2 separate regions of the Homo sapiens genome follow, and region 2 is linked to region 1. The links are contacts of gene promoters, found by promoter capture Hi-C in human tissues and cell types (Jung and others, 2019). All regions are on one chromosome and are shown on one strand. The core of a region is centred on a gene start or on the middle of the fragment in contact, and the rest is flanking DNA. Distances in the headings are between cores, read along the strand shown.

Region 1 (5,145 bases), core at 1,014-3,513:
TGCTGGGATTAAAGGTGTGAGCCATTGTGCCTGGCCGAAACTAAAAATCTTACCAACAACTAGTAATTCTATATGATGCTTTTGCTCTAACCTGAAATTCTAAATAATGCCTTTGTTTACACTGAGAAATTAATTTATAAAAGTATGCAGCACCTTCTCCATCTTTCTTACTATTTAAAAGCTCGGCTGGGCACAGTGACTCACGCCTATAATCGCAGGAGGATCACTTAGGCCCAGGAGTTTGACACTGGCCTGGGCAACATGGTGAGACCCTGTCTCTATAAAAACAAACAGGCCGGGCGTGGTGGCTCACGCCTATAATCCCAGCACTTTGGGAGGCCGGGGTGGGTAGATCACGAGGTCTGGAAATCGAGACCATCCTGGCTAACATGATGAAACCCCGTCTCTACTAAAAATACAAAAAATTAGCCGGGCGTGGTGGCGGGCGCCTGTAGTCCCAGCTACTCGGGAGGCTGAGGCAGGAGAATGGCGTGAACCCGGGAGGCGGAGCTTGCAGTGAGCCAAGATAGCGCTACTGCACTCCAGTCTGGGTGACAGAGCAAGACTCCGTCTCAAAAAGCCAACAAACAAAAACCCAGCTAGGCATGGTGGCCCGTGCCAGTAGTCCCAGCTACTTGGGAGGCTGAGGTGGGAGGATCACTTAAGCCCAGGAGGTCAAGGCTGCAGTGAGCTATAACCATGCCACTGCACTCCAGCCTGGGCAACAAAGGGAGATACTGTCTCATAAAACCAAATAAATAAATAAAAGTTTTATAAAAGTCATCAGTTCATACTAACTACCTCATCTGTTATTACAAACAGCAATAACATCCCACAATATTTTATCACCTACCAAATATGCACTAACAGATGTCTCTCTCACATTAAAACGGATAAGAAAAAGCAAAAGGGAAAACTGAAGTGCAGGCTGTGAAATGTGAAGGAACCATGGAACCTTGCTGAATGGTAATTATCATATATCAACATTTTCCAAGTGCTCACTTGTACAAGGGACTATAAAGATTACCACCCTTCAGCCAAGGAAAAAGGGGGTGGAGAGTGGGGTGGGAGGGAGGAATCAGAGCCCGGAAGGCTCTTTCTGAAGTAGAATGCAACTAACCTCAGAACACCAAGGGCAGAATGGAGGTTATCAAAGGCCTGGCGGAGTGTGTATGTGGGGGGTGAGTGGGTGGAGCGTCGATGTTGGTCAAAGGGTACATACTTGAAATTTGCTTAGATCTCAAATGTTCTCACACAAAAAAAAATGGTAACTAGGTGAGGTGATGGATATGTCAGGTTGATTTTGGTACTCATTTCACAATGTATTCGTGTATTAAAATATAATGTATACCTTAAGTATATACAATTATCAACAGTATTTGTCAATATACCTCAAAGAAGCTAAGGGGGAATAAAACACCAAGGAAATCCTGCCAAAGACAGGATTTGTTGGATATTAGAAAAAGTAAAGATACCATGGGCTACCTGCACTTTGCATAATCTAGTAGGGCACTGGACAGGAGTTGATTCGGCTACTATAAAAATCCTTGCAAAATGGTAATGTAGACTACACCTGTACTATTTGAGAGAGACAGAAGGGTGGGCGGGAGCAAGTTCGAGATGTCCACACCGGGTGAAAATTGAGGGTGCCGCTGGGAAGGTCCGAGAATGGGTTTTCATGGCCCCAAAGTGTCGAGGGAGGGTGGGGGCGTTCCATCTCCCGCCTCCATTTCCACTTCGCCACCTGCACCCCGCCCCGCGTGGGAGTGGAGGTCCACCAGAAGGCCCGAACAGCGGCGGGGGACAAGAAAGCGGCCGCGGGTCCCCGGGAATCGGAGCCGAGCGGCCCCTAGGGAGGAAGGGCTGCGGGAGGGTGGGGCGCGGTGCAGCGAGGAAACCGAAAGGAGGACTACGGGGAGGGAGTGCCGCGCGGCTGGGGACCCATCCCCGTACCACACCCGGGGACCCAGGATGGGGAAGGAGGGTCCAGGGTCCCGCGAGCGAAAGGAAGGCAGAACTTACTCCGCGGTCCTCTTCTGAGAGGAAGTCCGGGCCGTCGTCCAGGCCTTCCTGTGGGGTCGGCGGGCACGGCGCGCCGGGGAAAAGGATGAGATGGGGGAGACACAAAGGGAGACATTAGTGACAGGCTGGCGCGGTCCCCGCGCCCGCCCCGCGCCCGCTGCCCCCACCGCGCTCCCGGGACTCGGCGCCGCGGAGAACACCCACCATCATGGCTGCTCCGAGGCGAGGGCCGGCGCAGGCGCGCATCTCCCTGCTGCCGGAGGGAGCCGGCGGCCAGGAGCGGGGCGGGGCGGGGCGGAGGCGAAGGGGCGGGGCCTAAGGACGGCCCGCCCCGTCCCCGGCGCTGGTCGCTCGAGTCCGTGAGCGAGGAAGGTTAACAGGGCCTTCTGCCCAAGGTCAAGGCACCGAAGTCGGGAGAGCCTGAAGACCCAGACCTCATGGCTGGGGGCACCTCGCAGCTGGCGGGCTCTGACCAGGGAAGGGCCAAAGGCCACCCAGGGAGCTCTCCAGTTCCCCTGCCCCGAGGGCTCCAGCGAAAAACGATGCAGGCGCCCTCCGGAAGCCATAATACATCATCTGGTCTTTGTATTATGCCACACGATAATTAATCACAATTAATATCATTTTGCCTATGGAAGTTGCTGGAAACAAGGACCTTCACACAGTCGGTAATCAGGGACTATAATCAAGCTTTTACCGCTGGCGAGGTAATAACTACCTCAGAGTTTGGGGCACTAATGGTTGCGAACTATAAAAATGAGCTGTTTTCATTACAAAAATATTCCTTTCCTTTGTTAGAAGAAATTTCCCCACACCTACTCTAACTGTCCAGGTGGTTAGCATCACACGGGATCCACAGGCATTTCAAATAACGGGAGAAAATCATACTTAATCCTAGAATCTACACGTTCCTGAGCTTGCATTCAGTTAAGGAAAGGCATCTTCAGATGTTCAGACCAGAAACCCTTAACCCATTGAAATCCGTACTCTAGGGGCCGGGCGCTGTGGCTCACGTCTCTAATTCCAGCACTTTGGGAGGCCAAGGCGGGCGGATCACCTGAGGTCAGGAGTTTGAGACCATCCTGGCTAACATGGTGAAACCCCGTCTCTACTAAAAATACAAAAATTAGCCGGGCGTGGTGGCGCGTGCCTGTAATCTCAGCTACTTGGGAGGCTGAAGCAAAAGAATCGCTTGAACCTGGAAGGCAGAGGTTGCAGTGAGCCGAGATTGCACCACTGCACTCCAGCCTGGGCAACAGAGCAAGACTCTGTCTCAAAAAAAGAAAGAAATAAATCCTTATCTCCCTTACTCCTCATATCCAACCAAATCCTATGGCTTCTACAATTGATTGTCCTTCATACCTCTTTTTTTTTTTTTTTTGAGACAGAGTCTCGCTCTGTCGCCCAGGCTGGAGTGCAGTGGTGCGATCTCGGCTCACTGTAAGCTCCACCTCCAGGGTTCACGCCATTCTCCTGCCTCAGCCTCCCGAGTAGCTGGGACTACAGGTGTGTGCCACCACACCCGGCTAATTTTTTTGTATTTTTAGTAGGACAGGATTTCACCATGTTAGCCAGGAAGGTCTTGATCTCCTGACCTCATGATCCGCCCGCCTCGACCTCCCAAAGTGCTGGGATTACAGGTGTGAGCCACTGCGCCCAGCCCATACCTCTTTAATTAGTCCAATTTTTCCAGTTCTCACAGCAATTACCATCAACTCTCGTCTACACCTTTGCAATACTCTCCTGACTCCACTATTTTCCATCACTTTATCCTATTTTACACACTGCTGCCAGTTTTCCTCCTAAAACACAGATATTGATGATTATGCTACTACCCTGTTCAGTAATCTTTACAAGCCCCCATTACATAACGATTCAATTCCTCAGCCTACGATTTCAAGCCTTCTACATTTGAATCCCTCTCTACTCTGCCAGGCCCTCCATCCTATTTTATTGAAGTGAAGCTCTCAAAACAATATTAAACTTAACTGATATTTTGGCCGGACGCAGTGGCTCACACCTGTAATCCCAGCACTTTGGGAGGCCAAGGGGGGCAGATCATCTGAGGTCAGGAGTTCAAGACGAGCCTGGCCAACATGGTGAAACCTCATCTCTACTAAAAATACAAAAATTAGCTGGGTGAGGTGGTGCGCACCTGTAATCCCAGCTACTCGGGAGGCCAAGGCAGGAGAATTGCTTGAACTCGGGAGGCAGAGGTTGCAGTGAGCCAAGATCATGCCACCACACTCCAGCCTGGGTGACAGAGACTGCGTCTCAAAAAGAAAATAATAAATAAAAATTAAAAATTTAAAAAAACCACTTAACTGATATTTTCATAAGAACTTCTTGTAGCTTTCATTTTGTATGTAAGGAGAACTGAAGTATAGAGAGGTTAAGTTACTGCTCCAACAAAGGTTACTCTACGAAATGGGGGGCGGGGAAGGGACTTTATTTTTTGTCTTTTGTTTCTTGTTTCCCAGCGCATTGTGGTGACTACTAAAGTAGTCTTTTTCACTGGGAGTCATGAGGCATCATGTGGTGTCATTGTAGTGTGATGAAGTGTCGGGAGGAATGTTCCAGTAATTTGTTACCTACTAAAAGTGCCACTATTTCCTATTGGTTTGTTTTTAGATTAAAGGTAATGTCTGCAAAGCTCTTCCTAGGTGGAGAGAGAGGAGTGGAGCCACAATAAATGAGAGGGATTTACATACAACTGATAGGAAGGCCAAGTGCGTCCTTGTGGACAAAGGTTGAGAAGTGCCACAGAGAACCACCTGAAATGCCTCCTATCATTAACCAAGAGTTTTAAATTTCAGCATTTAAATAAAGTCCAGCCTGGGCGTGGTGACTCACCCCTGTAATCCTAGCACATTGGGAGGCTGAGGTGGGAAGACTGCTTGAGCCTAGGTGTTGAAGACCAGCCTGGGCAACATGGCAAAACCCTATCTCTACAAAAAATACAAAAATTAGCCGGGTATGGTGGCACACACCTGTGGTCCCTGCTACTTGGGAGGCTGAGGTGAGAGGATCACTTGATCCCAGGGAGGCTGAGGCTGCAGTGAGCCATATCGAACCACTGCACTCCAGCCTGGGCAACAGAGTGAGACCCTATCTAAAAAAAAA
Region 2 (5,145 bases), core at 2,230-4,729, 380 kb after region 1:
ATGTAGTAACTTTACAGTAAATATTTGGCATTGGAGAATTTACAGTTTGACCTGGAAAATCTTTCACATATAATCTGTAATTTTGTTAAGTAAATATTTGTCAAATTGAATATGGACATTAGCACTCTCGAGTATGGCATCCACTAGCCACATGTGGTTATTGAGCATTTGTAATGTGGCTAGTCCAAACTGAGATGTGTTTTACATATAAAATACACACCAGGTTTTCAGACTTGGTATGGGAAAAGAAATGTAAAATATCTCATTAATTTTTTATATAGATTACATATGAAAATGATAATTTTTTAGATGTATTGGGGTAGATACTAAAATTAGTATCACCTGTTTTTACTTTTTAAATGTCAGTACTGGAAATTTTAAAATTCATGTGTAGCCTTCATATACATTTTTGTATTACATTTCTGTAGTGCTGATGTAGATTCCTCCTGTGGCTTAAATTTGGTTTCACATTTTATACTCCAGCTTGTTCTAAAAAATGCTGTGAGATCTTTACCTCTGAATTGGTTTGGAGTATAGACTTGATTATGACTTCTTAAATTTATGTTCTTAAATTTTACTCTGTCTTTACAAAGGGGAATAATTGTATTATAATAGCTTATGGTAGCTTTTACATGAAAATGTCCTTATTTATATAATTTAAAAGTTGTGGCAGCACAGTGGCTCACGCCTGAAATCCCAGCACTTTGAGGCTGAGACAGAAGGATTGCTTGAACCCAGAAGTTGGAAACCAGCCTGGGCAACATGGCAAGACCCTGTCTCTACAAAAAAAAATTTTTTTAGTTAACTAGGTGTGGTGGCGTGTGCCTGTAGTCCCAGTTACTTGGGAGGCTGAAGTGGGAGCATCATTTGAGCCCAGGAGGTTGAGGCTGCAGTGAGCTCTGATTATGCCACTGCACTCCAGCCTGGGTGACAAGAGTGTGACCCTGTCTCAAAAAAGGAAAAAAAAGTTGTGGGGAAGGGGTTTTGAATTTATATGTATGTTAACCTGATTTTATTTTTAATTTATTTTTGGTATTTAGCTTGTAGACCCTGGAGTTAAGGCATGGACACCCACTAAAGGAAAACAAAATGTGATTATGTTTGTTGGATTGCAAGGGAGTGGTAAAACAACAACATGTTCAAAGGTAAATTGAACTTAATTTAAAAAGAAGTCATATGGAAGATAGGTTTGTATAAATCAAGTTTTGTATTTAATATAAAAATGTAAAGCCTGGCTTTATAATGTTGAAATATATATTTTATTAATTATAATTATTAGAATGCATTTATATATTATAAATAATGTTATTTTATATAAAATATATTTACATAAAATATATTTATATTATAATAAAATATATTTACATAAAATATATTTTATTAAAATATATTTATATTATAATAAAATATATTTACATAAAATAGATTTTATTAAAATATATTTACATAAAATAGATTTTATTAAAATATATTTACATAAAATAGATTTTATTAAAATATATTTACATAAAATAGATTTTATTAAAATATATTTACATTAAAATATATTAATAACATATTAAGATATAAAGCCAGGCTTTATAATATTGTTGCTTTATAATTTTGTGTTACTTGATGTATGTTTTTAAATAGTTTTTTTTAGGATAAGAGGAGAGGTCCTCATAGTTTCTTATGATTTTTTTTTTGTAAGAAGGTAGACATCTGTAACTATGCTATTTCTTTTATTAAAAAAAGACCATTCCTATCCTTTCAGGAAGTGAGTGTGTGATTTTTGGAGAAGAGAACATGGAGTTTACTTTATCCTCTATGGCTCAGGACTCCTTTTTCAGGTTCCCACCCAGCATACTATAGATCTTCATTTTGTGTATCCTTATGCCATATTTTTTTAGACAGAGTCTTACTTTTATTGCCCAAGCTTGAGTGCAGTGGCACGCAAACATAGCTTACTGTAGCCTTGACCGCTTTATGCTAATTTTTAATTCAGTTTACCACTCCTTTCTCCCAAATTGCATGTCTCAACAATATTACAAGATTTTTCCACAAGCTTCACGTATGTTACAGTTTGAGAGGGAAAAAGAGAAAAGGATGATTTTTAGATCGTTTTGTTGTTGTTTGTTTTTAATTAACATTAATAGTAGTTAACATTTTTTGCTATGATCATTTGCTACTTGATCATTTTATATTTGAATGCTACTGCATGACAATTAGAATATAAAACTTTGTAGGAAATTTGCCACATTCAAAAATCTTTAATAATATTTTCAGGAGAATTATAAGCAGTTTTATTTTACTCCTTAGGTAAATAATAAGGAAAAACAGAAAAAATTATATGTATAGTTTGTTATATTTTATGATATTATATTTTTAAATCTTTTCTCACCCAGCTAGCATATTATTACCAGAGGAAAGGTTGGAAGACCTGTTTAATATGTGCAGACACATTCAGAGCAGGTAATGTCTTGAAATTTGAAAATTGTTTTATATAATTTTTATTTTCAAGTTTGAGGATTCATGAACTCTTTATCTTCCAGGGGCTTTTGACCAACTAAAACAGAATGCTACCAAAGCAAGAATTCCATTTTATGGAAGGTAGGTTACTGTTTTTTATTTTAACACTTATATCCCTCTTCTTGTCTGTCAGCTTTTTTTTTTTTTTTTTTTTGAGACGGAGTCTCCCTCTGTCACCCAGGCTGGGGTGCAATGGTGCGATCTTGGCTCACTGCAACCACCACCTCCTGGGTTCAAGTGATTCTCCTGTCTCAGCTTCCTGAGTAACTGGGATTACAGGTGCCCACCACCATGCCCATCTAAATTTTTGTATTTTTAGTAGAGACAGGGTTTTACCATGTTGGCCAGGCTGGTCTCGAACTCCTGACCTCAGGTGATCCACCTGCCTCAGCCTCCCAAAGTGCTGGAATTACAGGCATGAGCCACCATGCCTGACCATGCCCTGCTAATTTTTTTAAAAACTTTTTGTAAAGACCCTGTCTTATAAAATATCCTTTGTTGCCCAGGCTGGTCCCAAGCTCCTGGGCTCAAATGATCCTCCCACCTCAGCCTCCCGAAGGGCTGGGATTACAGGCTTGAGCCACTGTATGCAGCCACACACATGTTCTTATTAAGTGTATTTCTATCTGAGTTTTTGGTGGTGGTTCTTAATTTAGGGGAAAAACTTTTTTTGTAACATTATGTGTCTTTATTTGATAATAGTGATCTGCATATAAAAAGTTGCCACTAATCAGAAGAGTGCAAATTAAAATATCTCATTTCTTGATTTTCAAGTTGACAAAGATTGTATTGGGGATTGTGAAAATGTAGTGAAATAGGGATGAGATTAAACTTTTATGGAAGAGATTTGCCTCATAAAAGCAAAAAGCCTTAAATGGTCATACCATTTGTTCCAAATTCAGCTTATAAGAGGTGTCATAACATAGTGTCAAAGAAGAAACATTTATGTACCAATTATATTGGCGGTATTTTTAATATCAGGAAATTGGAAACACTGCCATGCACAGTGGCTCATATCTGTAATCCCAGCACTTCGGGAGGCTGAGGTGGGAGGATTGCTTGAGCCCAGAAGTTGGACACCAGCCTGGGCAATATAGCAAGACCTCATCTCTACAAAAAATAAATTTAAAAAATTTTCAGGCTGGGCGCACCACGTTGGGAGGCTGAGGCGGGCGGATTATGAGGTCAGGAGTTCGAGACCAGCCTGGCCAACACAGTGAAACCCTGTCTCTACTAAAAATACAGAAATTAGCTGGGCGTGGTAGTGGGTGCCTGTAATCCTAGCTACTTGGGAGGCTGAGGCAGAAGAATCGCTTGAATCTGGGAGGCGAAGGTTGCATTGAGCCGAGATCGTGCCACTACCCTTCAGCCTGGGTGACAGAGCTAGACACCGTTTAAAAAAAAAAATTTTTTTAGGCCGGGCACAGTGGCTCACACCTGTAATCCCCGTACTTTGGGAGGCTTAGGCGGGTGGATCACCTGAGGTCGGGAGTTCAAGACCAGCCTGACCAACATGGAGAAAGCCCGTTTCTACTAAAAATACAAAATAACTGGACGTGGTGGCGTGTGCCTGTAATCCCAGCTACTCAGGAGGCTGAGGCAAGAGAATTGCTTGAACCCGGGAGGCAGAGGTTGCGGTGAGCTGAGATGGCATCATTGCACTCCACCATGGGCAACAAGAGCAAAACTGTGCCTCAAAATAAATAAATAAATAAATTTAAAAAAGAAATTGGAGGCCAGGCATGATGGCTCATGCATGTGATCCCAGCATTTTGGGAGGCCAAGGCGGGCATATCATGAGGTCAGAAGTTTGAGACCATCCTGACCAACATGGTGAAACCCCGTCTTTACTGAAAATACAAAAATTAGCCAGGCCTGGTGGCAGGCGCCTGTAATCCTAGCCACTTGGGAGGCTGAGGCACGAGAATCCCTTGAACCCAGGAGGCAGAAGTGGCAGTGAGCCGAGATCGCACCACTGCACTCCAGCCTGGGCAACAGAGTGAAACTTTGTCTCAAAAATAAATAAATAAATACATAAAAATTAAAAAAAAAATTGGAAAAACGTCAAATGTCTAATAGTAGGGCGTTATTTAATAAATGATACAGCCATCTGATAGAATGCTGTATAACCTCAAGGTTATGTGTTACAGAAATATTTTTTCTTTTTTCACCCGTGTTAATTTTTAAAGAGACATGCCATGGTCTTGCTCTGTTGCCCAAGTTGGAGTGCAGTTGCATGATCATAAGCTCACTGCAGTGTCGAACTCATGGACTCAAGTGGTCCTCCTGCCTCAGTCTCCCAAGTGGCTGGGACTATAGGCATATTCCACTATGCCAGCTAGTTTTTTTTTTTTGTAGAGATGGAATCTCACTATATTGCTCAGGCTTGTTACAAGAATATCTACTGGTTTTATAAAATGCTTCCAAATGGATGTTAAATGGAAAAATGTGTGAAACACTGTGAGCATGAGTTCAATTATTAAAGAAGATATAAAAAATAAATTTGAAGGAGACACAATTCATTCAAAAAAGACATGCAGTAGAATCATACTGGGTTTTGGAATTGGAAAATTGGATAATGCTTCATGCTTTTTTAGAAGTAGATTCTGTATTTAATACTTTATAGATTTTCCTCTT

Evidence for each region. The method cuts DNA at HindIII sites, captures the fragments that hold promoters and counts their contacts. A contact is called where the count stands out against the background at its distance.
Region 2: a contact is called between a fragment that was not itself captured here and the fragment with the promoter of SNX6 in region 1, in 1 of the 25 tissues and cell types used here (aorta).

What each region holds. Positions count from the first base shown.
Region 1 is chr14:34,627,885-34,633,029 of GRCh38, forward strand. SNX6 (sorting nexin 6) reads right to left here and starts at 2,264. Exons shown (of 14, transcript NM_152233.4): 1 at 2,227-2,264; 2 at 2,023-2,070. The coding sequence starts at 2,232. RefSeq lists a silencer at 2,018-2,367 and an enhancer at 2,538-2,587. The HindIII fragment of the contact is 20,741 bases long and covers 1-5,145 here.
Region 2 is chr14:35,006,243-35,011,387 of GRCh38, forward strand. It overlaps SRP54 (signal recognition particle 54), which reads left to right. Exons shown (of 16, transcript NM_003136.4): 5 at 1,041-1,145; 6 at 2,385-2,451; 7 at 2,532-2,589. Among named protein-coding and RNA genes, the nearest start is that of SRP54, 26 kb to the left of the region's middle. The HindIII fragment of the contact is 7,325 bases long and covers 1-5,145 here.